4 separate regions of the Homo sapiens genome follow, and regions 1, 2 and 3 are each linked to region 4. The links are contacts of gene promoters, found by promoter capture Hi-C in blood cells and fetal thymus (Javierre and others, 2016). All regions are on one chromosome and are shown on one strand. Each heading gives the region's core, a stretch centred on a gene start or on the middle of the fragment in contact. The rest is flanking DNA. Distances are from core to core; before and after follow the strand shown. Region 1 overlaps ULK4 (unc-51 like kinase 4). Region 2 overlaps ULK4 (unc-51 like kinase 4). Region 3 overlaps ULK4 (unc-51 like kinase 4). Region 4 holds the start of ZNF621 (zinc finger protein 621).

What was found. The method cuts DNA at HindIII sites, captures the fragments that hold promoters and counts their contacts. A CHiCAGO score of 5 or more calls a contact.
Region 1: a fragment that was not itself captured here is called in contact with the fragment with the promoter of ZNF621 in region 4 in 4 of 17 cell types (total CD4 T cells, total CD8 T cells, activated CD4 T cells and 1 more); the score reaches 7.6 in total CD4 T cells.
Region 2: a contact is called between a fragment that was not itself captured here and the fragment with the promoter of ZNF621 in region 4, in 3 of 17 cell types (total CD4 T cells, M0 macrophages and naive CD4 T cells). The highest score is 9.2, in total CD4 T cells.
Region 3: a contact is called between a fragment that was not itself captured here and the fragment with the promoter of ZNF621 in region 4, in 15 of 17 cell types (total CD4 T cells, total B cells, non-activated CD4 T cells and 12 more). The highest score is 12.5, in total CD4 T cells.

What each region holds. Positions count from the first base shown.
Region 1 is chr3:41,916,967-41,920,943 of GRCh38, reverse strand. It overlaps ULK4 (unc-51 like kinase 4), which reads left to right. Exons shown (of 37, transcript NM_017886.4): 6 at 1,126-1,227; 7 at 2,404-2,487. Among named protein-coding and RNA genes, the nearest start is that of ULK4, 43 kb to the left of the region's middle. The HindIII fragment of the contact is 4,490 bases long and covers 422-3,977 here.
Region 2 is chr3:41,894,840-41,898,416 of GRCh38, reverse strand. ULK4 (unc-51 like kinase 4) reads left to right here. Exons shown (of 37, transcript NM_017886.4): 15 at 1,414-1,595; 16 at 2,853-2,899. Among named protein-coding and RNA genes, the nearest start is that of ULK4, 65 kb to the left of the region's middle. The HindIII fragment of the contact is 3,983 bases long and covers 1-3,577 here.
Region 3 is chr3:41,874,873-41,878,558 of GRCh38, reverse strand. The region is part of intron 17 of ULK4 (unc-51 like kinase 4); the gene reads left to right. Among named protein-coding and RNA genes, the nearest start is that of ULK4, 85 kb to the left of the region's middle. The HindIII fragment of the contact is 3,624 bases long and covers 1-3,167 here.
Region 4 is chr3:40,523,041-40,526,938 of GRCh38, reverse strand. ZNF621 (zinc finger protein 621) reads right to left here and starts at 1,979. Exons shown (of 5, transcript NM_198484.5): 1 at 1,665-1,979; 2 at 1,075-1,160. The coding sequence starts at 1,098. RefSeq lists enhancers at 1,498-1,637, 1,197-2,009, 2,288-2,377 and a silencer at 1,938-2,097. The HindIII fragment of the contact is 8,303 bases long and covers 1-2,978 here.

The DNA.
Region 1 (3,977 bases), core at 1,417-3,916, 1.4 Mb before region 4:
AAACATCTATTAAGTGTTGGACAGAGTGCAAGGGTGTTCCATGGGCGTTATTTGTCTTTGTTTCCTCAGCAGCTGGTGCAGGCAAATATACCTTCCATCGATGTGTACAAAATGTGATAGCATAGCAAAAATGCTCCATGGGAGAACTTTACAGTCACGCATCAGGGCACACAAAGCTGCTGATCTCGCTGTAATGGGCTCTGGAGATAGGATTTGCTGGAAGGCTTACCTCAGTGGAATTTTGTTTCCAAATCATTGGAGATTACTTTCTTCCTGGAGAAAAGATTCTCATTGGGAGGCGGGAGTTAGATGGAATGCAGAGAGTGTGCACCAGGGAGAGACAAGGACCCTGGGTCTTGGCAGGTGCTCTGCAACTGCCTAGCTGTGTGATTTACTGGAGGTTAAGTATCCCTCTAAAGCTTCCATTTCTCTTGTCAGTGAATAAGGGAACTTTCTGGCTCTAAAATATGGGATTTCTGTGTAATATTAAACTTTGTATAAAGTATATGGGGCACACAATGGGGCTTTTCACTAAATATTTCCTATTCTCCTGGATAGATGGTAGGATTGCATCCTCTCCCTGGTCAAAGCCAACTAAGTGTGAGCGGAAGTGATGTGAGTAACTTTGAGATGGGAATTTTAGGAGCCAGTGTTCAGTTAGCTACATTCTTTCTCCCTGCCTCCAAGTGAGGAAGCATGAGTGGAGTTGGAGCCTCTATCAGCCTGGGTCTTTGAGTGACTATGAGGATCAGAGCTTCTTGGTAGATTTGTTGTGGACATGTTTAGTGATAGATAAACCTTTGCTGTTAAGCCAGTGGGATGTTGGGGTTGTTATATTGAAGGTTTAACTTAAACTATTCTAATTGAAATTTAAAAGAAGAATGTAGCTGAATGTGCCATACCTCTCAGGTAGATTTTAAACACTTTTTTATATTCACACACATCCTTTGCAAAATGTAACCTTAAAATTAGAAAACATTTAAAAATGTGAAATGCACATGAAGTTTTATTCATGCGCATGTTTTTCTCCTGCCCTTTTTCATCTCATCAGATCTTTCCTAGGTGGGTTCGTGTTGGCAGCAATACAAATGCCTAACCGAGCTGTTCTTCATACTTTGCTTTTAGGATCTCCTGTATATACAGCACCAGAAGTTGTGAGGGGTGCTGACTTTTCCATCTCCAGTGACCTCTGGTCTTTGGGCTGTCTGCTTTATGAAATGTTTTCAGGTAATTGTTTCCTGAATAGGTATAAAATCAGAGCTGGACTAAAAACCAGGTTAAGTCTGTACTTTGCAGATGTTTTACCTATAAGATGTGAAAAAACTAGATTTTTTTTTATTTTGAGACAGAGTCTCGTACTGTCACCCAGTCTGGAGTGCAGTGGCACGATCTCGGCTCACTACAACCTCTGCCTCCTGGGTTCAAGCCATTCCTGTGTCTCAGCTTCCCGAGTAGCTGGGCTTACAGGTGCCCACCACCATGCCTGGCAGTTTTTTCTATTTTTAGTAGAGAGCGGGTCTCACCATGTTGGCCAGGCTGGTCTTGAATGCCTGACCTCAAGTGATCTGCCTGCTTAGGCCTCCCAAAGCTCTGGGATTATAGGCATGAGCCACTGTGCCTGGCCAAAAAAACTGTGACCTTATAAATTTTTATGTATACTGATTTTGGCTGAGTTGCTTGGTATCTAGGCATATGCAGATTCCTAGAAAGTTCTTGATAAATAGGTAATTTTTCATGATAATCTGGAATGCTGAAATGTGCCTAACTCAAAAATTGTGATTATTAGAAATTTTTGTAAAGATGCCTTGCAATTGTGTATTATTCAGATGATTTGAATGGCCCATGCACCCATTGGTTCATAGTAGTGGTCCATATGTGTGTTTGTGTATTTGTTAGGATGATAATACATTTTGAAGTAAGAGAAATATATAGGCAGTGCCTCGTACATACTAGGCATTAAATAGCTATTGCTATATATTTTTTCTATAAGTTGTATAATCTTGAAATATCTGTAGTTGAGATTAGAATTATTGGTGATAGCAAGGCCAGGTGTGGTGGCTCACGCCTGTAATCCCAGCACTTTGGGAGATCGAGGCGGGCGGATCACGAGGTCAGGAGATTGAGACCATCCTGGCTAACACGGTGAAACCCCATCTCTACTAAAAATACAAAAAATTAGCTGGGCGTGGCAGCGTGCGCCTGTGGTCCCAGCTGCTGGGGAGGCTGAAGCAGGAGAGTGGCCTGAACCCAGGAGGCGGAGTGTGCAGTGAGCCGAGATTGCGCCACTGCACTCCAGCCTGGGTGACAGAGCAAGACTCCATCTCAAAAAAAAAAAAAAAAAAAAAAAAGAATTATTGGTGATAGCAGACTTCTTTCATTTTGCAAGTTTTCATGTGATTTCAGGAAAACCTCCATTCTTCTCAGAAAGTATTTCAGAATTAACTGAAAAGATCTTATGTGAAGATCCTTTGCCACCTATTCCGAAAGGTAAGATTTCTTATGATAAATGGAATTAATTTACATTTTACACTGATTAAAGGTGTACCTTTATCCAACGTTTGCTTTTATTGATTCATAACTCCCCAAAGTTATCTTTTATAAATGATCCCAAGTTGATATTTTTAGAAATGTTAGTATTTCTTTTGCCATTTTTTAAAGATGCTGAAACAGAAAACAAAGTACTAATAGATTTCCCTCATTTAAAAACTATTTTGTGCATCTATATCATAAAAAGTATGGCTTAAAGACTTAAAAAACTTAAACCCTTATGTGACATTGCTTTTTGTATGTACCATTTACTTACTTTGTAGTCGTATCCCATGTGGTTATTTCTATCTCCTGTTGGAACAAATTCACCATTTCCTTATCTTGATGAATCAGAATGCTACCCTTATAAGTTTTAAAAATCTTTATTTATTTATTTATTTATTTATTTATTTATTTATTTATTTATTTTTGAGACAGAGTCTTGCTCTGTTGCCCAGGCTGGAGTGCAGTGGCGTGTTCTCGGCTCACTGCAACCTCCGCCTCCCGGGTTCAAGCAGTTCTCCTGCCTCAGCCTCCCGAGTAGCTGGGACTACAGGTGCCCACCACGGCACCCGGCTAATTTTTTGTTTTTTGTTTTTTATTAGAGACGGGGTTTCACCATCTTGGCCAGGCTGGTCTCAAACTCCTGATGTCATGATCCACCCACCTCAGCCTCCCAAAGTGCTGGGATTACAGGCGTGAGCCACTGCGCCCGGCCTAAAAATCTTTAAAATTAGATACAGTTGTATTATTTTTAAAGTGTTGGAACTTTAATCATATAAATTGTGGTTAATATAATGATCTATCAGCAATAATTTTTAAGGAAAGGAAAACAAAAGAAGGCACAAGTGTAGTAAAACATTTTGCTATACATTGTTAAAGTTTATCTTAAGACACATAAATGAAAACAGGATTCTACAAAAATTATTGCTATATATACATATATATATATTTGAGAGACAGGGTTCTGCTGTGCTGCTGTGTCACTCAGGCTGGAGTGCAGTGGTGCAGTCAACCTCCCAAGTAGCCGGGACTATAGGGGCACACCACTGGGAATGGCTAATTTTTTAATTTTTTGGTGGAGACAAGGTCTTGGTATGTAGCCTAGCTTGTCTTGAACTCCTGGCCTCGAGTGATCCGCCTGCCTTGGCCTCTCAAAGTGCTGGGATTTCAAGTATGAGCCACAATGTGTGGCCATTACTACTACTTTTAACCATAGACTGATGACCTGGATATGGTATATAACTAATTTAAAAAGACAAAACATTATGAGATTAGTGGTATTGGACAGTGTCATATTATAATGCTTCTTATTTCTGTTAAAAATCTTAAAAGAGGGATTGCAAATATTCTTAGTTGTTCAAGTTAGGAATACTTAAAAGAATAAGGTATAATTAATAGTTAAGCTGGGGCCGGGCATGGTGGCACACACCTGTAATCCTAGCACTTTG
Region 2 (3,577 bases), core at 646-3,145, 1.4 Mb before region 4:
ACTTATCGAACATGTAGACTCTTTGTATACAGATACAAATATGAAATTTATTTGCAAATAGAATATATGTGAATAACTAAATTTATTTTGTCTTGACAATTGGCTATATTCTTGGGGCAGTGTTACACGAATTGTAAACAATCTGTAATTCATTTGTGCCAGCTGTTGACATTTCTTAGCTGAGTCTGGGCTGCCCAGTCCTATTGTGGGTGGGGAGGTTCCTGTAGATCTGGGCAAGTTTTCCTGTAGAGTGGGTGGGAGGTCTTCTCCTCCCTTCCCTTAGAGCTGGTTGAATTTCCACCATTTATGGCTGGTATAGGTGCACAGGGTTGGGGACAACAATGAAGGATTGGGATTCTATTAGAGGGACCAGGACATTTGAGAATGGGACTAGGTGGTTCATGACTGTGGAGGTGGTGTGGGAGTGGAGATACTTAAGGGATAATTATTACATTTCTGTTGAGCTAATGAAAGTCTTATTTAGGGTGACCATCAGAAATTTTTACATACCTTAAATTGGTTTTTTCGTTTAACAAATTATATTTTAAGCTGTTAAACTCGATTTGGGGAAAATTATTCATCGTGGCTAGAGTAGAATCTATGATTTGAAGTAAATTTAAAATATATTTAGGTTTAAATAAACCAGCTAAGGGTTTATATTGGTCAACTTAATTACTGATAAAAACAAAAAAGAAACTGTGTAGAAGGACGTTTTTGAAAGGCCAAGTGAAGCAAAGTATTATTAATAGTGCTTTCAGTGCCAAGTAGGACTATTTACGCAAACCTAGAGAATTATCACCTGGAAATACTATTTCCCTTTTCTTCTTTGAGTTATTTAGGAGATTATATTTACAATTTATTTTGTCTAAAGATAGAGATCAGCCAAAAATATGTTAATTTTAGGGGGTATCACATTTCCTAGATTTTGCCTTTTTTTTGTATAGGGATTTGGAGGTAGGAATTTCAGGTGATTTTTAGCTATCATGTTATTCTCGTTATTTTTTTTACAATAATTTTATTGGAACTTTTTAAGAACTGTAGGATTTGTGCTTTTCTCAATATTTGAGAGTTGATTTATTTATACAAAGGCTCTTTTGTCTTTTACTCCAGTTGTATTGAACTTTGCATTTTGTTATAGTGTAGGTTGTGGGACAGTTCTGCTTTAGACATCTGCTTTATTTGAAAGTATAGTTTTCCATTGAAGTGGTTAAAAAGTTTCCGTGGATAGATAAAGAGATTAGGAATATAGAAGGACGAATAAAAATAGTGTCATCTTTGGAGTATTTTTGGTTTTGACAGTGTAATGTTTGTCCTCATCTTAGCTGTCGTAATTCTGTGTTTATTTCTTATGTAATGTTTCCAGCAGTTCTTTTTCTCATCATATGTACTTTTATTATTTTCTTTCCATCGCAGTGGATAAGTTATTATTTCTGAAAGATCAAGATTGGAATGACTTTTTGCAACAAGTGTGCTCGCAGATCGACTCCACTGAGAAGAGCATGGGGGCCTCCCGAGCCAAGCTGAATCTCCTTTGCTATTTGTGCGTGGTGGCTGGTCACCAGGAGGTGGCCACCAGGCTCCTCCATTCCCCCCTGGTAAGCCTGTGTGACATGCCTTATGCATTTTAATTTGTGTTTTTATAGAGGCTCAAACAAGTGCTAAAATAACAATTTGATTTAACTACCACAAAAAAACTGATTTATCACGATTTTAGGTTTATGAAAATTATCCTCTGCTTAATCCTTAGGTCCTAAAGTAGATGACAGTAGATGGTGATTTTGAACTTATTTTGTTTGTTTGTTTGTAATACTCAGGTTTCCATTTTATGTTAACTTGTAAGATTTAAAAAAAAATCTGAAATCAGGCTGGGCGTAGTGGCTCATGCCTGTAATCCCAGCACTTTGGGAGGCCAAGGTGGGTGGATCACCTGAGGTCAGGAGTTCGAAACCAGCCTGGCCAACATGGTGAAACCCTGTCTCTACTAAAAGTACAAAATTAGCTGGGTGTGGCAGTGCACTCCTGTAATCCCAGCTACTTGGGAGGCTGAGGCAGGAGAATCACTTGAACCCGGGAGGCAGAGGTTGCAGTGAGCTGAGATCGCACCACAGCACTCCAGCCTGGGCAAAAAAAGTGAAACTCCATCTCAAAAAATAAAAATAAAAAAAAAGTGATATCATAAGACAGACCTTTTACCTTCTCATTAGTGACTGGAATGAACTCCCCATGTGGAATGGGTCGGGGGTGTCGGTTCCTTTACTGGGTCATCTGGTAAACTGCAGGGTTTCTGATGTGACATTGAAGGAAGACATCAATCCTCTAAGACATTTTTTTCCTCTTCCCCTGGGAATATTACTTTTTGGACTGTCTTGGTCTGTTGGTAAGCTCAAGGGAATTTGTCAGAGTTTTTTTGGTTTTTGTTTCTTTTGGCTCATGTTTAAGCATCGATTGGCAGAGTTTTTGAAGTCATCCTCAGAGAGGAATTACAGTGGTTCGGAGGTGTTTTCTATAGTGGTCCCTCATTTGGGAATTGGCTTGAAAAAATTTAAGTTCATTTGCTTCCAGGATAGTATTAAGGTTACTTTTTTTGATAGTTGGTGTGTGTCTATCAGGTAAGGGCAGTCATTTAGCGAATATAAAGTGGTAGGAGAAACTAAAAATACTGTTCTTAGTTTTTATTTTAATCTTATTCGTATACTAGTGCCTTTGTAATTTAGTAAATACCATTTTTGGTGTACAGTGTAAATTTCCTTTGTATAAAGTCCTGAGCTGTTAACTTTGCTGTCATTTTCTGTGTTTTGTGACTTAAACATTTTAATTTTTTCTTTTCTTTACACTTAAATTTCTTATTCTAGTTCCAATTGCTAATCCAGCATTTGCGGATAGCTCCAAACTGGGATATGTAAGTAACGTTTATATTTTAAAAATTATTTTTCATGACTTTATTAAGTAGTTACAGAGCACATATTTATCAAAAGCAGAGTCCTAAATAATTATCATAAATTATTCTGATGTAATGATGACTCTACTCATAGGCAATTTTTATGGGCATTCCAATGATAAATTTTAGAATATTAAAAATAGCCCTTCTCCTAATATTACAAATACAATTCTGGGATTATCTAAGGTACTCCTGGAAACTTTATTAACTGTTATTGTTTTTTTATTTTCTTAGAGACAAGGTCTCTCACTATGTTGCACAGGCTGGTTTTGAACTCCTGGGCTCAAGTGATTCTCCCATCTCTGACTCCCAAAGTGTTAGGATTACAGGTGTGAGCCACTGTGCCTGGCTAACTGTTACTGTTTTGAGTATTGATTATAAAATACTTAAACCCTGATCCCTGTGTATTAATTTAGTTATACTTCCTCGAAGTTTCCCTTGGCCACCCTTATCTTTCCCTCATGTAGCACATAGCTTCCCTAGATGTTATTTACAATCTAATGGGATTATGATTTATAAACTCCCGATGGAAGGAAGTGTCCTTGCTTTTTACAGAAGCAACATACCAGGTGGAGAGCACAGTAGATCAAGTGTTAGAAGGCTCTGGGTTCTGTTTGCCAATAAGACTTGGCCAAATGA
Region 3 (3,686 bases), core at 106-2,605, 1.4 Mb before region 4:
AAGATCTTTCCCTGATCAACTATTTGGTTATCCTTAAAATAGAGTTTGTTTTGCAAGGCAGGATAAATGCTTGATTGTTCCTCTTCATAGGTCAGTTTTCAGAATAAAGAGTTGGTACCTGAGAAATCTCCGTGTCTAGTGAGATTGATTTTATATTGTTAAGAACTTACAGGTGTATATATGTATATGTATATCGTCTAGTCCTTTGCAGTCATTAGTCTTTTTGATGCTTACATTGTTTCATCTCCATCCAGTGGGAGCTCTTTCAAGTTTGCTCCTTTCTCCCTTTGACATGAGCCTACTCCTGTCTCTGACAGCTTGCTGGCTTCTCGGCAGTGAGCTTTCATAGGCTTGTTTCGGGAATAGTCAACCCCTAGTTTTGAAACCACTTCTATAAGGAATCTTGTTTACTTTGTTAGAAGATGTAGTTAGAGAACTCAATCTGGGTTCTCTAGGTTTTTTTTTTTTTTTTTTTTTCCTGGTAGAGCTTTTCAGAGGTTAGATCTAGGTACTATTGTTTCTTAAAAAGAGAAAAATTCACAGTTTATTCTGCTTTTCCAATTCAGATTTTTTTATTGAGACAGAGTTTTGCTCTTGTTGCCCAGGCTGGAGTGCGACGGCGCGATCTCGGCTCACCGCAACCTCTGCCTCCCGGGTTCAAGCGATTCTCCTGCCTTAGCCTCTTGAGTAGCTGAGATTACAGGCATGCACCATCATGCCCGACTAATTTTGTATTTTTAGTAGAGATGGGGTTTCACCATGTTGGCCAGGCTGGTCTCAAACTCCTGACCTCAGGTGATCCACCCACCTTGGCCTCCCAAAGTTCTGGGATTATAGCGGTGAGCCACCACGCCTGGCTCCAATTCAGATTTAAAATTCGTTTTTACCTTTTGATTTACAATTTTTATTTTTCTTCTCATAAGCTAAAATTCCTGGCTGGGGCGGTGGCTCATGCCTGTAATACCAGCACTTTGGGAGCTGAGGTGGGTGGATCACTTGAGTTCAGGCGTTCGAGACCAGCTTGGCCAACATGGCAAAACCCCATCTCTACTAAAAATACAAAAATTAGCCGAGCATAGTGATGCACGCCTGTAATCCTGGCTCCTTGGGAGGCTGGGGCATGAGAATTGCTTGAACCCAGGAGGCGGAGGCTGCTGGGATCGGACCACTGCGCTCCAGCCTAGGCAACAGAGCAAGACTCTGTCTCAAAAAAAAACACTCTTGGCCATTAATAACATTAACATAATTATCTTTTTTTTTAGCTTAGAGTTTAGAATAGTTTAAAAATAGTACACGTATTGTTACTAACAACAAAACTACAAAGTGCATTTTAAGTACTTTTTTTCCCTTGGGATATAACCCACTGGATGATATGTACAGTCAAAACGCTGAGTTTTAAAAGCAATTTATATAATTCTTCACTTTGTACTTTTGTCACCAATATGATATATAGTTACATATGTTTTCAATTTTTTTTAGATATTTAGAGATTACTTTGTACTTTCTTTCTGGTTTGAAAATTATAATTCTTTTTTATTGAAGTGTTGGAAATACATACAAAACATAAATGTATTGCTTAATGAATTATTGCCAAGTGTGAAAACCCAATAAACTGTCACTGGGTCAAGAAACAGAACATTAAGTAGAACATTGCCAGCATACCCGGGGATCCTCTTGTGCTCTCTCCTGATCACTGTTCTCTCCCTTTGTGCCAAAGGAAGTTACCGTAACTTCCAATTCTGTCATGATTTTGCCGGCTTTTGAATTTTGTTTAAATTGAGTCATATGATATGTATACTTTGGTATCTGGCTTCTTTTATTTCATATTATGTTTATGGAATTCATCCTTGTTGCCTGTACCTGTAGTTCATTTTTATTACATGAGTATACTACATCACTGGTGATGGGCATTTGGATTGTTTTCTGTATTTGGCTATTAAAAGCCTTGCACACACATTTTGATGCACTTGCGCAAGCTCTCTGTTGGATATGTGTAGGAATGGAATTGGTAGGTTACAGGATATGTGTGTGTTCAACTTTAGGGGGTAATCTAAACTGTTTTCCAGTAAGGTTGTATAAGTTAAAATGCTTTGACTAATGAAAGAATGTTCAGTGCTCTGTATTCTCATGAATACTTGGTGTTGGCATAAAATCATGTTAAATAAGTATTTACCAGTTTCCTCTTTGTTTTTAACATTAATGGTTATTGAGTTTGGTATGGCATCAGAAGATAGGAGTATTTAATTTTTCTTCCTATCTCTATTAATAGGTGGATTATATTAATGGAATTCCTAAAAATAAATCACCTTTGCATCATTATAAGAAACAACTTGGTGCTCTCTATAATTCACTGTTGGAGTCTCTTTCCTCATGTTTTTTTCTAGAATTGTTCCTCTATTTTTTCTTGCCACATTACATTGATTCTTGGAGAGTCCAGGCTGTTTGTCCTGTTGAATATTCCACATTCCAGATTTGTCTGCTTGCTTTTTTTGGTATTGCTAACTTATTCCTCTAGTCCACACATTTCCTATAAACTGTAGGTTAGGTCTGGACGCTTCATTAGATTTAGGTTGAACCTTTTTTTTTTTTTTTTGGTAAGAACATATCATAGGTGATACTGGGTACTTCATATTTGAACTCATCAGGAAGCATGCAGTGTCAGGTTTTAATAGTTGCACCTACTTTGATCATTTGATTAAAGTAGTGCTGCCAGAGAGCTCCATTGTAAAGGTACATCTTTTCCTTTGCAGTGCCACTTTAGCTCTCATGTGATGTATGCAATAAGAGCATAATATTAAAACTTATATAGATTATAACTGCTGTTTTAACATTTTTCTAAAAAAAAACATTCAGGAAATGTTAATCATTGTATTAATTGTCATTAATTGCCATTGCATTTTCTCTTTATTTTCAACAGATTATTACTATTTTTATTTTTGAGATGCAGTCTCATTGTGTTGTTCAGGCTGGACTACAGTGGCACAATCATAGCTCACTACCTTGGGCTTAAGCCATCTTCCCACCTCAGCCTCCTAACTAGCTAGTACTAGAGGTGCATGCCACCATGGCCAGCTATTTTTTTATTTTTTATTTTTTGTAGAGACGTAGTCTCCCTATGTTGCCCAGGCTGGCCTTTTTAATTTTTAAAAAATCATTTTAGCCAAGCTTTATTGAATGCTTGCTGTGTACCAGGTGCCAGGCTGGTCTTAAACTCCTGGGCTCAAGTGATCCATTAACCTCAGCCTCCCAAAGTGTTGGGATTACCAGCGTGAGCTATCACACCTGGCCTCAACAGATTATTAATTCACTAAGTTCATCATGCTGTGTAACATTATTTTCACCATTATTGTTTTTGAAATTTATCTTATTTAATTTTTGTTTAGGCAGGGTCTCGCTCTGTTGCCCAGGTTGGAGTGCAGTAGCACGATCATGGCTCACTGAAAGTTCATACTCCTGGGCTCAACTGATCTCCCACTTCAGCCTCCCCAGTAGCTGGGACTACAGGTACACATCACCATGCCTGACTAATCTTTTAATTTTTACTTTTAGTAGAGATGGTGTCTCATATTATTTCCCAGGCTGGTCTCTAACTTCTGGTGACAAGCAATCCACCTGCCTCAGCCTTCCAAAGTGCTGGGATTACAGGCATGAGCTACTGCACCTGACTGCTAATTAATTAATATGTT
Region 4 (3,898 bases), core at 730-3,229:
GGTTGCGGTGAGCCGAGATAGCGCCATTGCACTCAAGCCTGGACAACAAAGGCGAAACTCCGTCTCAAAAACAAAAAAAATAAAAGGACAACACTTAATATCTTCTTAATTGACCAACACCTTTCTACCATCAATTTGCCACTAAGGGCTAGGAAAATCTTTTTAATATGTAAATCCAACCATGTCATCCCCCTGCTTAAAATTCTTCAGTGCCTTCCCAATGAACCAGTACAGAAACCACTGTCCTCACCATGACCTATAATACAGGTATCTATTTCTTCCATCTCATATTGAACCACTTTCTCTGACCCCTTCCAGTTTCTAGAGTACATCCAGCTTTCTCTGCAACTTCAGAGTCCTTGCATCTAGCATTTAGAAAATGTATATTAAAGCAACAATACTAGTCTCTCTGGGATACATACAATACAATTTGTGGGCAATCTCTCCAATAAAGAATTTCTGATTTCAAGCTAGTGCGGTGGCTCATGCCTATAATCCCAGCACTTTGGGAAGCCGAAGCGGGTGGATCACCTGAGCTCAGGAGTTCAAGACCAGCCTGGCCAACGTGGTGTAAACCCCGTCTCTACTAAAAATACAAAAATTAGCCACACGTGGCGGCGCACATCTGTAATCCCAGCTACTTAGGAGGCTGAGGTATGGGAATCACTTGAACCCAGGAGGCAGAGGCTGCAGTGAGCCGATATCATAGTGCCACTACACTCCAGCTTGGGCGACAGAGTGAGACTCCGTCTCACAAAAAATGAGTCTGATTTCAGTAGGTGACTTTCATTTCTAGAACACGATCTGGATTTCCACATTCAGAAAGAATTTCTTGGTATAGGTCCCCTTTCTTCCATTTAAATCTATACATCCAAACTCATCACTCTCTATACACAAAACTTTCATTTCCCCAGCACATATTTACATCTGCCATAGCCCTGGAGATAGATACAAAGGGGAAAACACAGCTTGGCCAAGTTAGGCCTTCCTCATCCTTTCCTGATTATCTGATAGCTAATGTGAGTAAAAAAACATAAACAAACAAACAAAAAAACTGAAAGAAGCTCAGCTCACCTGAGGCCAAGTTGTTTGGAGCATGGCGGATGTCCCCTGGCTTCATGCACTGTCTTCTGGGTTTGGACAAGCAAGATCCTCAAGAGCTAAGAGAAAAAGAGCCATGAGTGCTAAGGACCCTGTCGTCCACCACCTACAGCAACCTATGGCCCTCCCAGTTTCCACATTTCCAGCACTGGATGCACGGAGATTCTACTAGGACTCCCTCTAATTGTTCTCACGCTGATAGCCCCAAACTTCTTATGAATTGTTCTGCCTAGTCTTCAGGACAATCTTCCACCTGCCTGCTCAGTCCGAAGAGCTTTTTTTGAGCCCATTCGTACGGGTAAACTGAGGGACCCAAGAGCCCTGTCCCTATTGTGTTGGGTCTCTACAAACGTAAAGAGTCTTTACAGAATGCTTACAGGGACGATGACGTGGACCCAAAAGAAAGAACCTCAGGAGAAGAGGGACTGGGGTGGCTGAATGCGGATTAAGGGTAAAATACTCAGCGTCCCAGTGGGTGATGCTGACCGGAGACCCCACCCAACCGTGATCTTAACACTCCACCCAAGAAAACAGGCAACCCCAAACATCAGAAACGTCAGTACCGGGAGCCAGAGGCTGTCAGGGCAAGTTCTTTAGGGCAGAAAAGAGGATCAGGCCTCGGTGGCAAAGGGCTGGACACGGGCTCTAGAAGCCCGAGCAGCCACCTTGACGGCTTCGGCGAGGCCCAGATGCCCACGGTCCGGGTGAAGGAGGGGCGGGCCGCCATTGGGACCAAGTTCAGGGGTAGTGGGGGCTGACGAGCCGCCAGGGGCAGCGAGGAAGCCGGCACCGGGCGGACCTGGCACGTAGAACTCGCTGAAACCCACGCTCTGCAGAACGCCGAGGAGCTGGTCACTAACTAAAGGCCGAGCCGGAAGGGCGAGTGCACGCCCAGGGTCCCTCTAGGCCCCCGGAGGCCGCCATCTCGGTCGCCCCGTGGCCAGACCCGCCCCGCCTTTCATGGCTGGCCCCGCCCTGCGGAAGAGGCGAGGTTGCGGCGACCGGCTGGGCTGAGAGGCCGGCGGCGGGCGTGGAACTGTGGCGCTCTAAGCCCGGCTTTCTCCGGCAGCCGTCGGCATCGCCTCTGGCTGGAGTGTCACGGACTGATACAGCCTGGCTCTACCGAGACCTCGCCCTCTAGGCACAAGTGGGCCCCCAGTTCACGGGCTGCGCCTCAGCTGTTGGCCGCCTTGGCCCCGTGGCTCACCTGAAGCCTGGGCCGTGCAGGTGAGGGGAGAATGGCGCCTGCTTTGTCATCTCTAAGAGGCCCAAGCCCAGGATCTTGCTTGGGTCCTCAGCTGGGCAGTCCTCAGGGAAACCATGGTTTCCACTCGCCGTTTTAGCCCTCTCCCTTCCAAGGACCTAGATGTGCGTAGAACCTTTTAGGACAGATTCATTTAACAACCAAAACACCCGTGGCTACATACAGTTGCTAGGCATCCTGTATACACAGGACATGTCCTATATTAAATGATCTTGTCCTGTGTTGACTTTGGGAGGACACCCTAAATGTCTTATATTTAGCTTTTTCCAATAAATTACAAAAACTCGTAGTTACAGCTATTTTTCTGCTCAGTAACTGGCACTTAAATAAAATGTTAACACCAGCTGAAATATATATATCTCATACTTCCATAAATAATGATCTGGACAGACCTTTATGGTCTGTTCTGTTAGTTGGACTGCAGGAAGAAAAAACAGTGAAGAGGGGAGGCTGCTAATTAAAAGAACTTACTTTTCATATTCAGGAAAGGAAAAGACTGTTTTTTGACCAAAGTCCCAAGTCACTAACAAGTACTTGCCATTAATTTACATAATTTTAGATCAGTACACGTACTCTGAAAATCAACCAGTACACAACAGCCTCACTCCAAGCTTCTGAACATGAGCCAGTCAGTGATAAACACTTCCCGAAGCCAGCCAGTGGCAGCTCTACCCAGCTCATTGGCAAGTACCTCACTACTGTGCCCTTCCTTCTGGACAGGAGCCTTTCTCCAGTATCAAAGTGGTTGCTAAGATGGACAGACTTTGTTTTTTTTTTTTTTGCTTGTTTTTTGTTTGTTTGTTTTTTTGAGACGGAGTCTCGCTCTGTCGCCCAGGCTGGAGTGCAATGGCGCAATCTCGGCTCACTGCAAGCTCTGCCTTCTGGGTTCACGCCATTCTCCTTCCTCAGCCTCCCGAGTAGCTGGGACTACAGGCACCCCGCCACCACGCCCAGCTAATTTTTTGTATTTTTAGTAGAGACGGGTTTTCACCGTGTTAGCCAGGATGGTGTCGATCTCCTGACCTTGTGATCCGTGCACCTCGGCCTCCCAAAGTGCTGGGGATTACAGGCGTGAGCCACCGCGCCCGGCCCAGACTTTGTTTTACTTTAATCACGCTGATAACTTCTCCTGAACACAGTTCCAGATACCAGGCTCCTCACCACCAAGCATTTCCATGCTATAAAGGGGAATTGGTCTCCCACCACTAAAAGATAAAAAATGATCCTGGATATCTAGATATATTGCTTTATTACAGGGGTCCCACTTCTTGGATTTGTTATTCCTTTCTTAAGAATTAGACTGACTTATGAAGTCCTATTATGGAGAGTATCTTAGGTATCTACTGCTGCATAACAAATCACCCTAAAACCTTATGGCTGAAAACAAAACACACTTATTATCTCTTAAAGTTTCTATGAATCAGTGAACATAGTCAGTCAGTCCTAAAAAGAGAAAAAGGAAAAAAAAAAAAGGTTCTGTGGATGAGGAATTCGGGAGTGGCTTGGCTGGATGGTACTGGCTTGGGATCTCTC